2 separate regions of the Homo sapiens genome follow, and region 2 is linked to region 1. Evidence: promoter capture Hi-C in 16 types of primary human blood cells and fetal thymus (Javierre and others, 2016). All regions are on one chromosome and are shown on one strand. The core of a region is centred on a gene start or on the middle of the fragment in contact, and the rest is flanking DNA. Distances in the headings are between cores, read along the strand shown. Region 1 holds the start of C6orf62 (chromosome 6 open reading frame 62). Region 2 overlaps GCNT2 (glucosaminyl (N-acetyl) transferase 2 (I blood group)).

Evidence for each region. Contacts are between HindIII fragments. The CHiCAGO score rates a contact against its expected background, and 5 or more counts as called.
Region 2: a fragment that was not itself captured here is called in contact with the fragment with the promoter of C6orf62 in region 1 in 1 of 17 cell types (M0 macrophages); the score reaches 6.5 in M0 macrophages.

The regions. Positions count from the first base shown.
Region 1 is chr6:24,717,830-24,720,539 of GRCh38, forward strand. C6orf62 (chromosome 6 open reading frame 62) reads right to left here and starts at 1,325. Exons shown (of 5, transcript NM_030939.5): 1 at 711-1,325. The coding sequence starts at 839. RefSeq lists an enhancer at 2,006-2,710 and a silencer at 2,369-2,538. The HindIII fragment of the contact is 3,349 bases long and covers 481-2,710 here.
Region 2 is chr6:10,523,218-10,525,927 of GRCh38, forward strand. All of the region lies in intron 1 of GCNT2 (glucosaminyl (N-acetyl) transferase 2 (I blood group)), which reads left to right. Among named protein-coding and RNA genes, the nearest start is that of GCNT2, 3.2 kb to the left of the region's middle. The HindIII fragment of the contact is 3,884 bases long and covers 1-2,710 here.

The sequences.
Region 1 (2,710 bases), core at 75-2,574:
TAAGTTGCAAAAAATACTGCTCTTATCATCCCATCCTTGACTACTCACAACTTACTGTTTGCTATTTAACTGCGGAACTAATTCTGATTAAGACCTCCACCGCCCCTAAAAATGAAACTTCCTCTAGGTCATTTTGAGTTTTTAAAAACTGTACTTCTATACAAGGCAAAATGAACTCTAAGTAAAAAAGAAAATCACACTTCTAAACACAAATTAACCATTTCAGTATTTAATTGCTCCTAAAAGGTGTATTCTACTTCATTAAATGTAAGAGAAAAGGTTACCTACATTACGCAGTTTAAGAAACAGGATAAACTTTAGCATATAAACAGTCTGATTACAATTTCACACTTTCAACCATCTTATTTATACTCTACATTAGATAATCTTTAAATTCCATCATAAGGTTTCCCATGTTAACTCCATATAAAATTTTGTAATCTTGCCCACCCCATGTCAACTCAGTGTATACTACTACTAAGCTTCAGACTCAAATTTATTTCCAAACCAAAGAACGCTCAAGGGTCTTTTCGCATGCTGCAACTGCTCAATTCACAGAATCACCCCTAAGGGTGAAAAAACAGAGCATACAAAGCAGACTTTTTTTCAACCACTCTTTAACCTAATATTCATAATAATTTAAGAGTAACAAATAATATACACTTACAAAAATTACTTGTGCTAATTCACCATTAAGAACTTTAAATTACCTTCTCCTTGAATACAAAGGCAATATACATCTTGAAGTCAAACTGGTCAGCTAGAGATTCTTTTTTCTTTCTAAGCTGAGCACGTAGTCTGTTCAGAGCTTGTTTCTTCCGGGAGTTTGGGTCCCCCATTTTGAAATACAGGTGGTACTAAAGCCTTTGGAAATTGTCACTAAACTATGGGCACTTTTTCTTAAGACTCAAGTACAACAGAAACAAGTCATTTTTTTTCCTGCTAATATGATTGATTAGCGAAAATCACGACTATAACCCAAAAACTGCACCTTCTGTCAATATTAGCAGACTGTCATATTACAGGGTCAAGAAACAAAAGCTGCTGTCCAGTCATGTTTGGACAATAACGTTTGGGGTCAGACGGGAAAAAGGGAGGAAAGAAAGGAAAGAAAGAGGAGAAAATAACTAACTTTCTGGAAAACACATTTGGCTTAACTGCCAAAATAAAGGCTTTGCGGAGAAATGAAAAGCCTATAATCAGGATTTAGGTGTGCAATAAAACACAGCTGACACCAGACCAATCCCTAAAATCCATCCGGATTTTCCCCCCTTTTTAGAAAAGGGATTAAGGAACAGGGAGGGGGAAGTGTGATCCTTGCTTTCCAAAAAAAAAAAAAAAAAAAACTCACCAAAACCAAAACCAAAACCAAACACCAAAACAGGGTAGGTGAATGAAACTGAAATATCCAATTAGATTTTACCCAGCCAGCTCCATGGCTGTAGTACCTAATTCTTAGTTATTTCAGATTTCACTATTGCTATGTATTGTCAGTGCTTGTTATTGATTACACTTGGTGGTGAGCATAGAGAAAAGTGCAAAATCGGTAGAGAAGGAAAGGGAGAGGTACAGGGTTTCCCTGCAATCAACTACAGTGTATACCGGGGGCGGGCAGCTGTGGCCCAAAGGAGCCATGAGAAAAAACAGCGGAGTCATTACCAACTTCCCCATCACCCACATTTTCACCCTCAGGCGGCTGCTAACGCTGCTGCCAAGGAGAATCATGACGGCAGAAGGAAAAGGGGTATATAATACGGTATTAATTATTCCGGCTCTGTGGTTAGACCTGATTAATGCCCGGGTTCCCAACACCCCCAGCCTGCAACTAGTCCTACATTCCCCAAGGGAGACTTCCCTGTGGATCTGCCCCCGTTCAAAATGGTGGGGAGTGCGATTTATCTTCTTGTGAGCATTGCCGAGGCAAAGGTGGCGGGTTCTTCTCCCAAATCCCAGGCGGTGCCCGGAGACCACCTGCCTTCCACCCCCGCAGGTCCCACCCCCACCCCTTGCCTTCAGCGGCAGCGACTCACTCGCACCACGGGAGACACAGGATCACTCAGGTTTTCACTCATTTCATCGTGGAAACAATTCCCGCCCGGGTGGAGTGGGCGGGAGAGGGTAAATGGGAAGGTTCAGTGGGGGAAAAAAAGAAAATAATTGTGTTAATATTACTTCTAAAGTAAGCCCACCCACCCTCCCCCCAAAAAATTAAGTTCCCGGATTAGCTCTCTCTCACGTTGAACAGACCATGTTTCCAGAGTTTGGATTGTTTAGGGTGGGGTCGTTAGTTGTTTCCCGAGGGGCAGGGGGTGGAATTGAGGCAGCTAGGGCGGGGTGGGTGACGGGGAAATCCCCTCCCTGTCCCCGCGGAGCCCGGGACTCACGGACCGACTCTAGGGCGGGGTTTGGGCCCTCTAGCCGCAGCCTGCGGGCGGAGCGGTGGCGGCGGCGGAAGAGGCGGCGGCGGCGGGGGCGCTGCTGGTAGCACGGGCAGGAGCCATGTCAAGAGAAAACCACCAGCCAACTGAGCCCCTCCATCCCCGCTGCAGTGCGCACCGTGACTGGACCGCCCGCGCTGCTGCCGCCGCTCAGCCCCCACCTGGGACCCATAGTCTGGCTCGGCGCCCTGGGCGGCAACGGAGGGGAAGGACGCGGAGACAGCGGCAACAGGGAGAGAAAAAGAAAAAGAGGAAAAACAAAGAGAAAGATG
Region 2 (2,710 bases), core at 144-2,643, about 14 Mb before region 1:
TCGAGACCAGCCTACCAGCATGGTGAAACCCCATCTCTACTAAAAAGAAAATACAAAAATTAGCCGGGTGTGGTGGCACATGCCTGTAACCCCAGCTGCTCGGGAGGCTGAGGCAGGAGAATTGCTTAAACCCGGGAGGCAGAGGCTTCAGTGAGCCGGGATGGCGTCATTACACTGCAGACGGGGCAACAAGAGCGAAACTCCGTCTCAAAAGAAAAAAAAAAAAAAAAAGACCAGCTTTCTCTTATAGTTTCCTATTACTTTTTTTCCCAGCTATTTTTTGTTAAACGATCACAACCCACTTCATTTCCCCCTCGTAGCCTCTTCTTCCCCACAGCTTTCCATCCAGGTCTGGAATTAGCTCTGACTTCTCTAGAAGCCCTGAGCTGAGCACGTTAGGTGCCCTACCTCCAGAATCCTCCCAGCATGGCCTGGAGATTGCTGTTGTCTTGACTCTAGACTTGAAAAACCAAGGCCGGGCGCTGTGGCTCATGCCTGTAATCCCAGCACTTTGGGAGGCCGGGGTGGGCGGATCACGAGGTCAGGAGATCGAGACCATCCTGGCTAACACGGTGAAACCCCGTCTCTATTAAAAATACAAAAAAATTAGCCGGGCTTGGTGGTGGGCGCCTGTAGTCCCAGCTACTCGGGAGGCTGAGGCAGGAGAATGGCCTGAACCCGGGAGGCGGAGCTTGCAGTGAGCCGAGATCGCGCCACTGCACTCCAGCCTGGGTGACAGAGCGAGACTCTGTCTCAAAAAAAAAAAAAAAAAAAAACCAAGACTAAGAGGTGTGGTGATCTGGCTAGGAAGGAAGCCACAGTTGGGAGTTGGAGGCTCTAAGTAACAGCAGAGCCCCTTACAGCCTGCGAGATCCATGCTGGATCTTGGTTTGTTTTTCAACAAACGGGTGTTGTTTTCTCAAATTCACTCCAAGAGGAAGCTGTGATTATAAATCAAATGACTTATTCAACGGCTCCAAGCCTGTTAAGAGTGGCCTTGGTCCACGGAAACTTTCTGACACATAATCCAGGGCTTTTTTTTTTTTTTTTTAGACGGAGTTTCGCTCTTGTTGCCTGGGCTGGAGTGCGATGGCACGATCTCGGCTCACCGCAACCTTCGCCTCCCGGGGTTCAAGCGATTCTCCTGCCTCAGCCTCCTGAGTAGCTGGAATTAACAGGCATGCGCCACCACGCCCGGCTAATTTTGTATTTTCAGTAGAGACAGGGTTTCTCCATGTTGGTCAGGCTGGTCTCTAACTCAATCCAGGGCTCTTTTTAACCATACTATTTAAGCCCTGTTGCTGGAAGCCTGTGGTTATAACCTATGCTTAAAAAGAAATAGTGATGAGGATAAAGCAGGGTACCGAACTTGTCAAGAGAAAACACATAAATAAGAAAGAGCAGGCAGAGAGGAGGACAGGAAAAGGTTGTCTTTTTGAAAAAGGACAAAATGATACAAAAATTAGCCAGGCATGGTGGTGCATACCTGTAAGCCCAGCTACTTGGGAGGCTGAGGCAGGAGAATCACTTGAACCTGGGAGGCCGAGGTTGCAATGAGCTGAGATTGTGCCGTTGCACTCCAGCCTGAGTCACAAAAGCAAAACTCTGTCCCCCACCCCCCAAAAAAAAGAAAAGGAAAGAAAGAAAAGAAAAAGGACAAAATGTGTTGCCCTTCAGATTAAAAACCAGTTTAATCCAAGCTGTTCTTCCTCTGAGACTGCATCAGGCTTTCACAGACACTGAGAAAGTTTCCATCGGCCCACCCCCCCGGTTTCTAATTTGGGCACACAGGTGATGTCATGGTAAAATGAATATGTGAAAAGTGCTTTGGGCATCATATGGTCCATGAATAATTAAGGTGAGGATGATGGGATTCTTGTCTGTAGAAAGGAACCCCTTTTTTTCTGCTTCTCTTTCTACAGTCAGTTATTGAGATTAAACTCTAAGTGCAGTGTCTTAGTGCAATGAAAATTAGTTTACATCCTGGAGAGTGAGAATTTATAAGAGTATGTGTTATGGAGAAATAAGCAATTAGTGATTGAACATAATATACACCCTGCCAGTTATTGAGCAACCAAACTATAAGTCTTTGCTGGTTCCCAATTTGTTCAGAACTCTTTATTTATCCCACCTGATCAGTGCCTCCGACTTAGAATTGGGGGGTATTAATTTTGATCTGAAATTCAACCTGGGATGAACAATCTCGCGTCCTTTTGGTCACTCCCTGATTACCATCTCCTCCCATTATATCACACAAACGCAAGAGCCTAGAGCCCAGAATTGAGGAGAGTGATTACTGATAGATTGTACAAGGGCATTGGGAAAGCTGGAGGGTCTGGAAGACCAGCGTGTCCCATGTGCCTACCAAAATAAAATGCACCAGCTGGCACTGGGTTGATGAAAAAGGAAATAGGTTCATATTAATTCTTTTTTTAAATGTCTAGCATTGTCAAAGATACTATTTTACAGAATCATAAATATTCCAGAGCTCAAAATCAAGGGACCGTCTTAGCATTACAGGTAAGGTACAAGTAAAGACGTATGAACTTTGCTTGTACTTGCAGCAGAGCACAAAATACAAGTGTTCGTTACCCTGCAACTAAATCCAGTGAGTTGTAAATTCGAAGAGCAGGCAAATAATTCAAGATGCTTCTATGTCTGCAATGTCTGGAGGGATAGAACTAGGCCAAGAATGAGGTAAGAGTCAAAC